Regions from separate parts of the Homo sapiens genome. Here all the other regions are linked to region 1. Evidence: promoter capture Hi-C in 16 types of primary human blood cells and fetal thymus (Javierre and others, 2016). All regions are on one chromosome and are shown on one strand. Each heading gives the region's core, a stretch centred on a gene start or on the middle of the fragment in contact. The rest is flanking DNA. Distances are from core to core; before and after follow the strand shown. Region 1 holds the start of INTS14 (integrator complex subunit 14). Region 2 holds the start of PDCD7 (programmed cell death 7). Region 3 overlaps RAB11A (RAB11A, member RAS oncogene family). Region 4 overlaps MEGF11 (multiple EGF like domains 11). Region 5 overlaps MEGF11 (multiple EGF like domains 11).

Region 1 (3,019 bases), core at 414-2,913:
TAATGAATCAGACCCTGCAACTGAGCCAGAATTACCACGAGGACAGTAACCCTATGGCTAAGTCGTTGTCACATTAGGGGTAACTAGACACTTGCTTACCCACACATTCTTGGCCACATCCCTCCCAATAGGGCAAGATTAGAAATCATGACTAAGTTATCAGGCTGCAGCCTTACTTACCTGGAGCCCAATGCCTGCTCAAGCATAACTAGGTCTTGACATGGTGAGATCAGCCAGGTTGGGGAAAGAAGTTTTGAAGCAAATAGGGCAGTCTGCAGGGCCCTGGCCCCAGTGCTGGCAGGGATATTCCCAGGGACAGGAAAAAACTACAAGCAACTGGCCCCACAATCTCCCACATAACAAGCTGTGAGAAGTCAGACAGATTTGTCTGTTCAGTTCAAAGCATCCTCCTTCCTCGTCCCATCTCCTAATCTCGCCCCATCCTATCAGCTAAAAGAAAAAGGCAAATGCCTGAGGCCTTCTAGAGGCCTTTCTGTACTCACTTTGTAACCTATGTGGTTCCACATTGTTCTTTGAACCGTAACTACCCAGGGGCCTGCTGGCATCCATCTAAGCCTATCTCTAGCTGGGATTCCCTGGCTCCCTACATGGTTAGAAAGAAAGTCACCTCTTGCCCTCTTAAGGACCTCACTGAGGCACAGACTACAATGGAGACACCAGGTGGCCAGAGTGGCAGGCAAGAGCCCATGTTGCCTTACAGGGAAATCTGAGCACGCATGCCTTGTCCAGGGTGAGAGGAACGAGGGCCCTCTGCTTCCCTCAAAGAGGGGATAGGGGAAATAAAGTGAGCATTTGGGCTGAGGAGACCAAGAGGCCAAGTCTTGAGGTAAATTGGGCTCAGGTCAGCTAAGAAGGATATACAAAGCATACCTCAGCCAGGAATTACAGTTTTGGGGTTTTTCCCCCCAAGATTCTCGTGCGTTAGCCTCCCAAGTAGCTGGGATTACAGGCACTCGTTACCATGCCCGGCTAATTTTTGTATTTTAGTAGAGAGCGGGGTTTCACCATGTTTCCCAGGCTGGTCTCAAACTCCTGACCTGAAGCGATCCGCCCACCTTGGCCTCCCAAAGTGCTGGGATTACAGGCCTGAACCACCACGCCCGGCCAGGATTTGTAGTTCAGGAATTGCAGTTTAAAAAGAACAGGAAGAGGATTCTGTCAACCGGTTCAGAGGATACGAGAGAGGGGGCTAAAGAGTGACGAGGAAAATAGCAGGAAGGGTTGGGCTCGTGCACCGACGGGGCCCAGGGGAGTGAGGGGACAAAAGTGTGAAGCGGACACAGAGTCACCGGGCCAGGTGAGGCCCATGGGTCAGTGGGGCAGAAGGGGAAGGAAAGAGCCCGAGAATGGGGAGAGATTCAGGGCAATGCAGAGAGACACGGCAGGAAACCCAGCCAAGGCTCGAGAGAAGTTGGGGATTTGTGGGAGGAGAGGGGTGGCCGCGGATTGGCCATCGCGAAGAGAGGCCGCGCCCCCTAGCGTCCCTCCGGGATGAGCCAGAACCCTGCCCGGGCGACCCTGAAGCTCTCCAAGGACCGCCCCGCCCAGCGCGGAGTGCAGGCGCCGGATTCCCTTCTGTCGCGCGGCCTTATAGTTCCGGCTGTGGCGCGCGGACGGAAAGTTTATGCCGACGGAAAGTTTATGCCGACGGACTGTGTCCGGCGATGGGCACGGGGTGAGTGGGGAGGCCGAGGGCCCGGGACTGCCTTTCGCTGCTTGTTGGGGTTACAGGTGAAGGGGTTATGGGTGAAGAACAACCCAGGGCCAGCGCTTGGCCTTCCCGCCACCGTGGCGGCCGCCCCGCGCTGTCTGTGAGGCGCCAGTTCCGGGGCGCTGCTCCCGGCCTCCCCTCGCTCTGAGGCTCGGGGTCCCCAGCTCCGCGTAAACTGCACGATTTCGCCCTCTGCTCAGCTCCCCTCTGCCCCCTCTTTCCAAGAGAGACTTCCAGATCCCACATTTTCTTGACTGATTTTTAAGGTAAAAATACATCTCCCAGATGTGATTTTCAGTCTGGACTTTTAGAGATGAAATTATATCTGAGAACTGGGGAGGGACTCCCGGAGGCTGACGGGAAAGCCAAAGAGCAGGTGAGGCACTAGAAATTCAGGTAGAATCCTGCTTTGAGAGCGAGACTGCTGAGAATCAGTTCTTTATGAATGAGCTAATTATCACCTTCAGGGAAGAATTACAAACGTCTAGCTGATGGACACTTGGTATTCAAGGCCAAATAGGTGGCTAGGGCCTATTTCTCAGACTGTTCCTGAGAAAGAAGAGCCCTAGTTGTTTGAACAGTACACGTGGGAAGGGGGTGGGGGTGGGAGACTTGGGGGCTCAGAATCCACCCAAGTGAGGAATACATAGTGTTGTGCTCACAAAATTGGTAGACTGTGGTGGGCAGGGATTCCCCCCCACCCAAGACGGAGTCTCGCTCTGTCGCCCAGGCTGAAGAGCAGTGGCGCGATCTCGGCTCACTGCAACCTCTGCCTCCTGGGTTCAAGCAATTCTCCTATTTCAGCCTCCCAAGTACTAGAACCACAGGCGCACGCCACCACATCTGGCTAATTTTTGTATTTTTAGTAGAGATGGGGTTTCACCATGTTGGTCAGACTGGTCTCGAACTCCTGACCTCGGGTGATCTGCCCGCCTCAGCCTCCCAAAGTGCTGGGATTAAAGGCGTGCCTGGCCTTTTTTTTTTTTAATCAGGCCTATACTGCTTGAGTGAACTATCCTTCAGGAACTTTCAGTTCCCTCCTTTACTCCAACCTGAGTACTAAATTGATCTCCCACGACTTTGTAACTGTTAATGAGGTGCATTTGGGAGTCGACACAAATGCATCACTTGGGAGAAAGAGCCAGCTCCAGAGGTGTCTTCAGAGAAGGCAAGACTGCCAGCTGTCATCACTGTCAACAGCAGATTTCACGGGCTGAAAGTGCTTTTTTGTATTTGATCTAAGTCTGTGTAAACTGTTTCCTCCCATTCTCCTAAGAGGTGAGGGCA
Region 2 (3,274 bases), core at 526-3,025, 480 kb after region 1:
TCCCAAAGTGCTGGGATTACAGGCCAAAACTGGCATTCTATCAGGCTTCCCACTAGACATAGTCCTGTAACCTAAGGCAGGTCCAGTTCCCTGCAGCTTGCAAATTCAAATAACAAGTAAGAGAATGGTAAAAAGAAAGTGACTGCCACGGGCACGGTGGCTCACGCCTGTAATCCCAACATGATCCAAGGCAGGCGGATCATGAGGTCAGGAGATCGAGACCATCCTGGCTAACATGGTGAAACCCCATCTCCACTAAAAATACAAAAAAATTAGCCAGGCATGGTGGTGGGCACCTGTAATCCCAGCTACTCGGGAGGCTGAGGCAGAAGAATGGCATGAACCCAGGAGGCAGAGCTTACAATGAGCCAAGATCACGCCACTGCACTCCAGCCTGGGCGACACAGGGAGACTCTGTCTCATAAAAAAAAAAAAAGAAAGAAAGTGGCCAGGTGTGGTGGCTCACACCTGTAACCCCAGCACTTTGGGAGGCCAAGGTGGACGGATCACCTGATGTAAGGAGTTTACGACCAGCCTAGCCAGCATTGTGAAACCCCCTCTCTACTAAAAACACAAAAATTAGCCAGGCGTGGCAGCAGGGGTCTATAATCCCAGCAACTGACTAGGGAGGCTGAGGCACCAAGAATAACTGGAACCTGGGATGCAGTGGTTGCAGTGAGTGGAGAGTGCGTCATTGCACTCCAGCCTGGGTGACAGAGGGACTCTGTCTCAAAAAAAGTGGGGGGTGCACGGGACTTGGTTGACCTGGATGGCATGCAAGGGGTGGGGAGGGACCAAGGAGGTGCTGGGTCTATGGGACTTGCTCCTATGTATCCATCAGTGATCTGGTTGGCGCCATGGAGGCTGGGGCGAAGGCGGAGGGGGGGTGGGGGGTAGCGGGGAGCTAGGTTGTAAATTGACAGTTGTCCCCAGGCAATCCCCTGGTATGGGAAAGTTCCAGAGGTCCCTGGTTTAAGCTTCGGTCCTTGGAACTAATAAGCGAACACATAATTAGATAAGCTTACAGTGTAGAGAGTGTCTGGTGGAGAGAAGGTAAAGGTTAATTGGATTTTTTTTTTTGACAGGTGTCATTCTGTCGCCCAGGGTGGAGTGCAGTGGCGTTATCGTGGCTCATTGCAGTCTTTACCTCCCAGGGCTCAGGTGATCCTCCCACCTCAGCCTCCCCAATGGCTGGGACTACAGGCCGATCTCGCCTGCCTCGGCCTCCCAAAGTGCTGGGATTACAGACGTGAGCCACAGCACCCACCCTATAATTGCATTCCTAAAGAGCTAAATAGGAGGTGGGGTGAAAGGAGAAAAGTAAAAATAATTCATTTTTCTAAGAAAATGGGTAGTTGGTCACACTCCTATTTACTAGGGCCTTTGCACATGTTCTCATCTGCACTGTGCTTCCCTCTCTTTTTCTATTTAACTATTTATCTTCCAGATCTCAGCTGCAGCCGCAGTTTCTTAGGATAACCTTCTCCAACTTCTCGAAGATACTCACCATGATTAATTGATTAGTGTGTTATACTAGGCAGATAGTTCCACGAAGAGAAGCTCTGTATCTCTCAGTCTCACTGTATGCGGAGTGGGTAGCTCTGCACCTAGGATGCTCAATAAGAACGGTATTTATGAACTGAACGACAGAAGGTTGAACGACTGCCCACTTATGCACTGAGCCTTCCGGAGGGACGAGTCTACAGGGGTCGCGCGTCGTAACGACGTCACTTCCGTCGGAAGGTTCTCATGAGGAGCCACTCAGATTCCTGTCACTTCTCAAAGCATCTCCGTCGTGAACATGGCCCTGCCACCATTCTTCGGCCAGGGTCGCCCAGGCCCACCGCCCCCGCAGCCGCCGCCTCCTGCTCCTTTCGGCTGTCCGCCACCGCCGCTGCCCTCCCCGGCTTTCCCGCCGCCTCTCCCCCAGCGGCCCGGCCCTTTTCCGGGGGCCTCCGCCCCCTTCCTTCAGCCTCCGCTGGCTCTGCAGCCCCGAGCCTCCGCGGAGGCCTCCCGCGGCGGAGGCGGCGCTGGCGCCTTCTACCCGGTGCCACCACCGCCGCTGCCTCCTCCGCCGCCCCAGTGTCGGCCCTTCCCGGGGACCGACGCCGGCGAGCGGCCGCGGCCACCGCCTCCCGGCCCGGGGCCGCCCTGGAGCCCGCGGTGGCCTGAGGCGCCGCCGCCGCCGGCCGACGTGCTCGGGGATGCGGCCCTCCAACGCCTGCGCGACCGGCAGTGGCTGGAGGCGGTGTTCGGGACCCCGCGGCGGGCAGGCTGTCCGGTGCCCCAGCGCACGCATGCCGGGCCCAGCCTTGGCGAAGTGCGCGCGCGATTGCTCCGGGCTCTGCGCCTGGTGCGGCGGCTGCGCGGCCTGAGCCAGGCCCTGCGCGAGGCCGAAGCCGACGGCGCGGCCTGGGTCCTGCTGTACTCCCAGACCGCGCCGCTGCGCGCGGAACTGGCCGAGCGGCTACAGCCGTTGACCCAGGCTGCCTATGTGGGCGAGGCGCGGAGGAGGCTGGAGAGGGTCCGGCGCCGCCGGCTGCGGCTTCGCGAGAGGGCCCGGGAACGCGAGGCCGAGCGGGAGGCAGAGGCCGCGCGGGCAGTGGAACGCGAGCAGGAGATTGACCGCTGGAGGGTGAAGTGTGTGCAGGAGGTGGAGGAGAAGAAGCGGGTGAGAGCAGCGGCCGCTCATGGGGGTAGGAGTGGTGGTGGTTGGAACCTGGAGCAGCAGGAGGCTTTAAACTTCCATTTCCCAGGGCTAAGCCTCTGTTTTACGCGCAAAATGAAGCGATAGCTAACCTTCCCAGCTCATACCACCATGTTAATTTTGTGTTAATGATGTGTGGTACACAAAAGTTCCAGGTGCACTGTAAAATCCTGTAAACACAAAGTATAGGATTACACGGTGGCACTGCACGAATGACAGGTCTCCCCTATCCTGCTCCAACATTGTCCACTTACTCTCAAAACCAGTAAGTGTCTAGTTCCTTGTGTCTTGTACTGCCCTAGGTGGTTTTAAGAATACAAAATACAGGCCGGGCGCGGTGGCCCACGCCTGTAATCCCAGCACTTTGGGAGGCGGAGGCGGGTGGATCACGAGGTCAGGAGTTCAAGACCAGCCTGGCCAAGATGGTGAAACCCCGTCTCTACTAAAAATACAAAAATTAGCCATGCGTGGTGGCGGGCGCCTGTAATCCCAGCTACTCTGGAGGCGGAGGTTGCAGTGAGCCGAGATCGCACCACTGCATTCCAGCCTGGGCGACAGAGCAAGACT
Region 3 (3,149 bases), core at 269-2,768, 280 kb before region 1:
TTCAATGTTTACTCAGTAATGCAAGAACCTATGCTTTTACATCAGGATTCCACGGCTGCACCCAAAGCACTCAAAGGAAAAATGTAATCTGACAGCATAAGAAATAATCCCCCTATAACTGTTTATTAGAATGTGAATATAATCCAAATCAATAACTAAAAAAAAATCAAATTACAGAGCATGCATAAAATACAAAGTAGCAATTTACAAATAGATAATATTATCTTCATAACTAATACACTAAAATAATAAAATGGCTATAGAAGAAAACCAAAATGACTGACTACAGCAATGCCTTCCGTGTGCCCCACACATCATGAGCACCGCAAGAGACAAAAGATTAACTATGAAATATAGTAATCTAAGCAAGCCCACACATACATATTTTTGGGGATTTCCCACCATCCTGAATAGTATCACTGCAGTTGACACAACTTCCAGGAAACTGCAGAGTAAGTGCTTAATATTATCCACGAGAAAGCAAAACTAAATATTAGTGTGCACATTTCTGAATGAGAAACTAATTGCTTCATTGATTTCAACAATGTAGTGGAAGAAAACTATTTCAGATCTCTACAATGCCTAAATGCATTCTATTTAAACTCAAGGTACTATTTCATTTTACATACTAAAAGAATACATGCCTTTAAGTGGTACCACTTGAGCAGAAATTAACCTCTCACTGTACTCTTCAGACATACTGAAACCAAAGATTTAACTGGACTATATTCTATAATATACTGCAAAACTCAAATATTAGCATTGTTAAAATAATTATCCATGCCTGCTGGTGGATATGGTGATAAAACTAGGTTGTATTTCACTTACTGGAAGGTTCTAAGACAAAATTAACACTTCAAAATTTGACACTACCAGCATTAAACCAATTATTGCCTGAGCAATAAAATGCCACATAATCTACCGCTTGGAAATTATTATAGATCATTTAAATCTTTTGGGCTGCCTGATCATTGCCAACAGAGGCACCCGAGATGGAATACCACAAGTCTCTTCAGTTCCCAGCCTACCAGGCAGCACTGTTTAACTTATGGCCCCACAACCATACTACTAATGAAACCGTAACAATCTTTTGTGTTTACTAAGAGAATTCTCCAGAAAAAGTGCCCCCCTCTCTAATCAACTTTGATGCTTACAAAAATTAAAAAACAAAATTTACTCAACTACATAAACCTATTAAGGCATTTTAGAAATTCATGTCCAGAATAATGGAAAATTTTCAAGCTCTCAAAATCCTGCTATGTTTATAGGGCAATTCTTAGATTTGTGGAAATGTACACTGCACTGAGAGAAGAGTGTATTACCTATAAGCTGCTCTGTGGCAAAATGGTAGCTTATTTCTAAGGTCTTCTTAGTTTGATTTGATCAAGACCAATAGGTCTGAGCTTCAAGTGATCAAGTTCTATTATGTCCTACATACAGTGACAGGCTTCCATGATGAAAAGTAAACAATAACTGAGGAATCCAAACATTCAGTTTATTAAACTAAGGCTAGTGAAGCCATAGCATGAAAAAAAGCTGCAGTCATTCGGGACAAGTGGATGATTTTATAAAGCTAAAATCAAAAGACTTAGGACATGGAAAAATTCATAAGTATGAAGTAATAAAACACAAAAGTGACACAAGAATTACAAATATATTTAAATCTCAGACCTGGGAAATGGACTATACACAGCCTTCTAGGGGAGAAGAGAAATGCCTTAGATGTTCTGACAGCACTGCACCTTTGGCTTGTTTTCAGTGGTTGGTGGAACATGAATAGGAACCACATTGTTGCTTGGAGACATGTCATTTTCGCGTCTGTCTGACATTTGCTTCTGAGAAACAATGCGGTAAATCTCTGAAGGAAAAAAGAAACCACAATACTTAGTGTGAATAAACCTATCATAGTTAGGATAAAAGATACATAAAGGTAGGAGATATATTTGCATCAAAGTCCCTAAGGAAACTGAACAGAGAATACATAAATTTAAAGTTTTATTTTCAAACAGCCACTGATTAGATTCAACCCTTTATTTTAACAATTGCCCTTTGGGTAAGAAAAGAAACAAAGGTTTTTCCATGTCAGAGGGAAAGGTTCACCAGTCAAATAAATCTTTGTTTAAAGAGGTAAACCAGGCCAGGCAGATCACCTGAGGTCAGGAGTTCAAGACCAGCCTGACCAACATGGTGAAACCCTGTCTCTACAAAAATACAAAAATTAGCCAAGCATGATGGTGGGTGCCTGTAATCCCAGCTACTCGGGAGGCTGAGGCAGGAGAATCACTTGAACCCGGGAGGCGGAGGTTGTCGTGAGATGAGATCGTGCCACTGCACTCCAGCCTAGACAACAGAGCAAGACTCGGTCTCAAAAAAAAAAAAAAGAGGTAAGCCAATAGCATTACATTGTTTATGGACTTAGATTCAAAGTAAACCATAAGAGTATTTTCAGTCTACCTTTACCCCAAAAAACAAACAAACAAACAAAAATTGCCTACACACAATGACATTGTACCACACAAAAAATAAATAAATTTGCACTATCAGACGCATTCGGCAGAGTACATCTTAACAAACATGCTAAAATCCCAAACGATTCTTGGAAGGGAAAAAAAGATAATGTGTTTATCAGTGACCTCCTGAACAAAACTTAAATTGTAATTAAAGAATGATACAAAATAGGCAACTTAAGATGTTATATGTAAACTCTATTTTTATTTCATGACACTTATCAAAAATAATTTAGTGTCTGCCTCTTTTACTAAGTGTTAAACTCTGTAAGGATCAAAACTGTGTCTGTCTTACTGCTGTACTGCAACATATAACATGTGTTGTGATAAATAAATAACCGCATGAATGTCACTAAATTCCTCCACAATAAGTATCTGTATGTAACACGTTTGGTCTTATACTGCACTGCCTAAAAGTTGTTCCCTGTGACTAGATTATAAAGTCCTTAAGAACAGAGAATGTACCTTATTTTTGTTTACTCTCCCAGTTGTCCCTCCAAAAACACTACTCTCAAAAAGCAAGATAATTCTAAAAATGTGTCAAATTAACACAATTAGCCTCCTAATACGATGTACTAGGAAAGACACAATGTATTCCTATAAAGGACACCATGTATTCCTGACAAAAATATTTAAAACTAA
Region 4 (2,995 bases), core at 494-2,993, 320 kb before region 1:
CAGACGTCCCTCAAACAGAGGGTCCTGAGATAAGCTGCCAGACTCCACCCTGGGCAGAAACAGCACTCCCCACCTGAGCTGGTGCCTGTTCCAGGTAGGATCATCTGCCTGCAGCACAAACAATGAGCACCCGGAGGCAGGAGACCTGGGTTCTAGCCCCAGCTCTCCTAACAGCTCTGTTGTATTTCTGAACTCTGTGTGGAATGTGTGTTCTAACCCAGCCCTCAGGAAAGCAGTGGTTTGGGTGGAATGCTGTGTGCAGAGCTGGGGGGAGTGGGCAAAAAAGACACACTGGGCCTGGATGGAGAAGTGACAGTCCCTTTCCCTCCCCTCAGGGTGGCAGGGCCTGGACTGCACCCTGCCATGTCCCAGTGGGACGTGGGGCCTGAACTGCAACGAGAGCTGCACCTGTGCCAATGGGGCAGCCTGCAGCCCCATAGACGGCTCCTGCTCCTGCACTCCTGGCTGGCTGGGAGACACCTGTGAGCTGCCTTGCCCGGTGAGTGCCAGGGTGGGGAGGGACAGGTTGGGCTCCGCATCCCCTCACGCCCTTTCCCTGGTGTTAGTTCGTCCACAAGAGTGCACAGAGAACAGCACTAAGCTAGGTGATGGGACACTTGGATTTAGGTCACAGTCCTAGTCCTAACCTCTCTGTGGCTATTTTACTACTTTGGCCCTCATCCCCCTCGTCTATAAAATGGCAAATACTTGGCAGATGTGGTGACATGGCATCACTTTTCCCGTGCTGCTCTTGGTAAACATTATTGACTCTGGCACTTGAGCTCAAATGCAGCTTCAGATTCCTTCACAACCCAGTGCTACAAGACAGCCCTTACTAATCCATGAGAGTTGCCATTCGTTGGTAGATAATGTTTAAGCTTCCTTCTGGTTCCAACAGTCTGTACTTTTATGATCAGAGTGTGTGGTGACTAAAGCAAGCACTGTTCAATAATAACCACCCAGACTTAATCACTTCATCTTATAGGTCTGAGATACAAATAAGTTAAACCCACTGATATGATATTGCTGGATGAGCAATGCAGTCCTTAATGAGCAATTTGGAGTCCTGCAATCCTGGGTTCAAATCTTGGCTTTGTCACATCCTTTGTTACCTTGAGCATGTTACTTCACCTCTCTAACCTTGTTTCTCATCTTTAAAGTGGGAATACAATGGAATCATATCATGGAATTGCTGTGAGGATTAAGAAAAATTAAGTATATGAGGCTCTTGATACCTAATGAGCATATAAGAATTGGTGACTACCTTCTTCCCCGGCAACAAAGAATAAATCATAGTCATTCCTCACAGATGATCAATGTGTTACAATCTGCAAAGTGCACTTTCATTTACAGTTTTAGTTAATGATCATTACAGGCCTTTGAGCTTGACCACTGAGAAGTAGAGCAGGAGTATCACCTCCTTCTCAACCTCATACTCCTGTTAATGCAGCCAAATAATTCTTCAGAGTGTCTTCATGGCTGTGTTATCCCCACTTACAAAACGTGTCCCCATTGTGCCCCAGCCCCAGTCTCCCTGCATCTCTGTGGGGTTCTGGCTCAGTTTTGTCATCAAGATCCAGTAGATCTCACTGGACCCTCCAAAAGTAAAAATTAAAGAAAAGATCCATAGAAGTACACAAACCTCTGGAGGTTTGGGTCTGATCATTTTTCTCTCCCTGTCTTCTCCACAGGATGGCACATTTGGGCTGAACTGCAGTGAACACTGTGACTGCAGCCATGCTGATGGATGTGACCCCGTCACAGGCCACTGCTGCTGCCTGGCCGGATGGACAGGTAACCTTCCCTTGCTGTGCCACCACCCAGGTACTGTGAAACTGGGTTCTTGGTATCCTACTTCTCTTGACCGTTTTCTTCTTCAATACCTCTCTTCTTGATCCCTGAGTATGCATCTTTCCCTTTATCTGCTCTGGGTTCCAGTTCTCCATTCCATTTAATTCAAGTAAATATTTATTGAACATCTATTAGGTATAAGCTCTGTCCAAGGCACTGGAGTCACTCCAGTAGGTCAAAAGCTGACATATGGTTGGTGTAAGTGCTCAATCTAGAGAATATGATGGAGAAGGGGACAAGGGCCTTTCTCCTTAGTCCAGTCTCAGAATCCTGGTCCTTATATCTATCCTGTCAGCCTGCCTCCTAAATACAAGGTGAATCCATCTACTTCTCTCCATCCCACTGCCACCACACGGTCTGCTGGGTACCATCCCGCATCTGGCACTGCCTTGGCCTCCGCTCTTGCCCAGCTGCATTCATTCTGCACCTGGTGGCCAGAGTCAACTTTTCAAACCCAGATCTGCCATTTCAGTCCCTGTTCAGAATGCCTCAGTGGCTTCCCACGACTCTTACATAAAATTTTAAATCCTTACCATGGCCCAGGGCCCACGGGATCTGGCTCTGCCTGACTCCACCTCACTCTGTTCACTTTGTGGCTCACTACATTCCAGCCACCAGGGCTGCAGTCTACTTCTTCAGGAAGCCAACCACCTTCCTGACTCCAGGCCTTTGCACATGCCATTCCCTCTGCCTGGATCATTCCTTCCCCTTTTCACCTGATAACTCCTTGTCTACCAGATTTCAATGTAAAGCTTTCTTCCTCTGGGAAGGCACTTCCCCTGCTACAATACCCACCCCAACCTGACCAAGACAAAAGCACTCCCTTTATTAATTCTTCTACCCTACACTTTTCCTATTGTGGTACTTAAATCAGAGTTCAATGACAACTGTGGTAACTGTTTATTATCTGCCTCCCTAATGTGGCCATCAGCTATATGGAGGCATCTGCCTTATTCACCATTGTATCCACTGCCTGCCACACACTGAGATATGGATAACACGGTAGTTAAGAACCCAGCTCTGGAGCAAGACTGCTGGGGTTTATGACCTTGGGCAAGTCATTTAACCTCTCAGGGCCTGAACTCTCCATCCATAAAATACAGATAATTATCCTTGCAACTACAGGGTTGTTTTGAAGCTTAAA
Region 5 (3,198 bases), core at 213-2,712, 300 kb before region 1:
CTGACCCTGGCCCACTTGTGTACTTCCTACCCCCTTCCCCTGCTATACCAGGGCCCTGGGAATAATGGCTCCTCCCTGTCATTCCTCTCACTAGACTCCCATTTCCAGATCAGTGCCCTGGAGGCCAGGTACCCGCCCGAGGACTTCTACATTGAACTTAGACACCTCAGCCGCCCCGCTGAGCCACACTCACCAGGTCAGACCCCAGCCCTACCCTCCACCCCCTCATGCCAGACCAGACCCAGCACCTGCCCTAATCCCCATCCCTGCACCTTGACCCCCACCCTGTGGTCCCAGAACTCTCCCTTTTAAGCCCTCTTCCCTCCCAACATGTCTACCAGCTCAATCCCCTATCTAAAGATGGAAACCTGTCTGGATCTTCCCCATCACCCATTCTGTTCCCATAGTGAACGGTGGATGTGAACAAACAGGCTATTTAGGGTGGAGAAGATACAACAAAACTGCCCTCCCTACAGGCCACAAAATACAATCCTACACCTTTCAAAAATGACTTGGGGATGGCGACATCTTTGGGGTTCTCTGGGCCCTGTTGGAGTGGATAACAGGGAGTTAGCTCTCTGGCCAATAAAGTCCAATGTCTCCCAGAGACTCCAGAAACCCCAGTGGCCCAAGCCAAGCTTTCTCAAATCACAGGGTAGGGTTGTCAAACAGGGATCTGGAGAGGCTGGGGCAGGATGTATCAACCAACATCACCTGTACTCATGTACTGAGTACAGCCTGGGCTGAAATCTGGTGGCTTGGGAGACACACACACAAGAGACTTGGAAAGTTAGCCCTGATTATGGGAACATGTGGGTAGGAGTTACAGAAGGTATCATGGGAACAAGTGCAATGAATGAACAGAGAATGTGGCCTCCCTACAATGTGGCTCCTCTGGGGCACCCTGGGGCAGGGCCTTGGTATACCAGACAACTCTAGGCCTGACCTCAGGCTCTAGGTGGCTTCTAGAACTCTAAGGAAACTGAGCTGCTCTACCAATCCCTGCAGGTCCCTGGGTCCAGTAATACCAGGAAGGGTGAATGTTCTGAATTCATCTGCCCACTGAGCAGGCATGGGCTGCATGGACCCTGGGCCTATACTCAGGAGGCTGTGTTATTAGCTGTGGGTCCCCTGGACAGTATCTAGGGCATTTAATAACCCCACCAACTACAATCTCTCCCATTCCAGCATATACACACACACACAGCCCCACCACCACCACCCTGTATCTCTTTCTACAAGGGAGTATCCTCTGAACTAGGCCAGATTTCTCCCTGCTTTACAGATCTCACTCTTCAACTAGCGTAGCCAGAGCGCCATGCGCTGGCATTTGTCTTACACCCAGGCAGGCTGGTATCCAGTGAGAGAGAATACTTGGAGAGATCTGGGCTCTAACTGTAACTCAGCTTCTCACTTGCTAGTGTGGTTTTGGACAAGCCACTGTTGCTCTTTGGGCCTGTTCCCTGTTCTGTAAAAAGGAAAAGTTAATACCCTAGCCAGCTTCCCTCAGGAAGGGCAAAGGAAGCCCTTGTCTGGCATAAAGTGCTGAACTAATGCCAGCATATAGGCAGTTGCAGGCATGATTCTGAAGGACACAGGTACCTATAAGCCTCTCAGAAAAAACAGCAAATTTGAGGCTGGGTACGGTGGCTCACGTCTGTAATCCCAGCACTTTGGGAGGCTGAGGCAGGCAGATCACGTGACGTCAGGAGTTCAAGACCAGCCTGGCCAACATGGTAAAACCCCATCTGTTAAAAATACAAAAAAATTAGCTGGGAGTGGTGGTGCATGCCTGTAGTCCCAGCTACTCAGGAGGTTGAGACAGGAGAATCGATTGAACCTGGAAGGTGGAGGTTGTAGTGAACAGAGATTGCGCCACTGCACTCCAGCCTGGGTGACACAGCGAGACTCCATCTCAAAAAAAAAGAAAAAAAGAAAAATAGCAAACTTAAAAGAAAAACTTGGGCCTGGTTCTGCCATATCTCTCAGTAATATGTGGAACGTAGGCAGATAGGAGTAGACGCTTTCAAATTCAACATGGGAACTCTACGTAGAGGAGCGATAGCAACAGGGTGGTCTTCAGTGTCAGAAACTGGGAAGAGTCAAGGAGAGTCAAACTGTATTTTAGTAAGTACTTGCTGCAGGCCTTGCTTGGTGCTGTGTCCTCAGTTAAAAGCTAGAAGAAAAAATTGCTCTGACTTTGAGCCAGAGTCATTACTGTCCCAACCTAGAAATGCCAAACAATTTCTTTTCTGGGATCACCAGCAGCAAAGAACCCAAGCTTAGTCCCTGAAGCCTCTGGCTGAGGCTCAGGGCCATCATGCATTGTTGGAGCCTAGGAAAAAACTGACAGCCGAAAGGTAGAAAGAAATCCTTGGGGCTGAAAACACTGGTAATACTTTTCAAAAACAATTCTACATTATGTGCAAATGGCACACCCCAAAAAATGAGTAACTAAGAGAACTGGCTATGGGAGGGAATGTCTGTACATCCTACAAAGATGACTAATCAAGAACCTCAGCCACCTGTCTCCCTCTGTTTCTCTCTGGCTACCCTCAGATAAGCCTTGGATCCAGGAGAGGACAGACAGGACCAGAGCTGAGAGGTGATAAATACTGTCTTCAAACCCATGCCAAATTCCAACAGAACTGTGATTTGTAATGTCATACAACTTTCCCTCAAGCCAAGAACTGGTTCTGCTTCATTCCTTATCCTATACCCTTGGAGCCTGGAGTTTCACCTGCAGGGAATGGCATCAGAACAGCCTTTTATTCCTTCCTGAAAGACACTCCCCTAGGGTGAAGGTTAAAGGGAAGGAGTGCTGAATATGCCGGGGGTCGCTGTAGCTTATGAGCCTTTTAATAATTCCTATAATCAAAACAATTTCAGATGGATTAAACCCAGAATCATTTATCAAAACAATTTCAGGTAGATTAAACCCCCAGAATCATTTTCTAGCAATAAACAACTATTTATTTTCTGGGTAGGGGAGAAGGGGGGGGAAAAGCAAGAAAAGAAAGAAGAACACAAGCAGTCTAAGTAAACCTCACCCCCATATTTTCTTTCCTTACATGTTATTTTTACACAGGTGCTTGTGGAATGGATAGACGTCAGAACACATACATTATGGACAAAGGCTTCAAAGGTAGAGTATCCAATCCTGCTGTCTTATTACAGAGGGCTTAGCAAGATAAAGAG

The links. Contacts are between HindIII fragments. The CHiCAGO score rates a contact against its expected background, and 5 or more counts as called.
Region 2: the fragment with the promoter of PDCD7 here is called in contact with the fragment with the promoter of INTS14 in region 1 in 6 of 17 cell types (naive CD8 T cells, M0 macrophages, naive CD4 T cells and 3 more); the score reaches 8.7 in naive CD8 T cells.
Region 3: a contact is called between a fragment that was not itself captured here and the fragment with the promoter of INTS14 in region 1, in 5 of 17 cell types (total B cells, total CD8 T cells, fetal thymus and 2 more). The highest score is 5.8, in total B cells.
Region 4: a fragment that was not itself captured here is called in contact with the fragment with the promoter of INTS14 in region 1 in 1 of 17 cell types (megakaryocytes); the score reaches 5.1 in megakaryocytes.
Region 5: a contact is called between a fragment that was not itself captured here and the fragment with the promoter of INTS14 in region 1, in 1 of 17 cell types (endothelial precursors). The highest score is 5.9, in endothelial precursors.

Annotation. Positions count from the first base shown.
Region 1 is chr15:65,609,775-65,612,793 of GRCh38, reverse strand. INTS14 (integrator complex subunit 14) reads left to right here and starts at 1,663. Exons shown (of 12, transcript NM_001394796.1): 1 at 1,663-1,696. It also overlaps a transcript of SLC24A1 not described here. RefSeq lists an enhancer at 1,586-1,745. The HindIII fragment of the contact is 5,572 bases long and covers 1-3,019 here.
Region 2 is chr15:65,132,309-65,135,582 of GRCh38, reverse strand. PDCD7 (programmed cell death 7) reads left to right here and starts at 1,775. Exons shown (of 5, transcript NM_005707.2): 1 at 1,775-2,671. The coding sequence starts at 1,802. RefSeq lists an enhancer at 1,490-1,589 and silencers at 1,880-2,089, 2,150-2,549. The HindIII fragment of the contact is 3,462 bases long and covers 1,023-3,274 here.
Region 3 is chr15:65,886,410-65,889,558 of GRCh38, reverse strand. RAB11A (RAB11A, member RAS oncogene family) reads right to left here. Exons shown (of 5, transcript NM_004663.5): 5 at 1-1,858. The coding sequence ends at 1,719. Among named protein-coding and RNA genes, the nearest start is that of RAB11A, 18 kb to the right of the region's middle. The HindIII fragment of the contact is 7,470 bases long and covers 1-3,149 here.
Region 4 is chr15:65,927,224-65,930,218 of GRCh38, reverse strand. MEGF11 (multiple EGF like domains 11) reads left to right here. Exons shown (of 26, transcript NM_001385028.1): 12 at 336-499; 13 at 1,692-1,794. Among named protein-coding and RNA genes, the nearest start is that of RAB11A, 59 kb to the right of the region's middle. The HindIII fragment of the contact is 1,725 bases long and covers 881-2,605 here.
Region 5 is chr15:65,906,032-65,909,229 of GRCh38, reverse strand. It overlaps MEGF11 (multiple EGF like domains 11), which reads left to right. Exons shown (of 26, transcript NM_001385028.1): 23 at 95-196; 24 at 3,089-3,145. Among named protein-coding and RNA genes, the nearest start is that of RAB11A, 38 kb to the right of the region's middle. The HindIII fragment of the contact is 1,643 bases long and covers 641-2,283 here.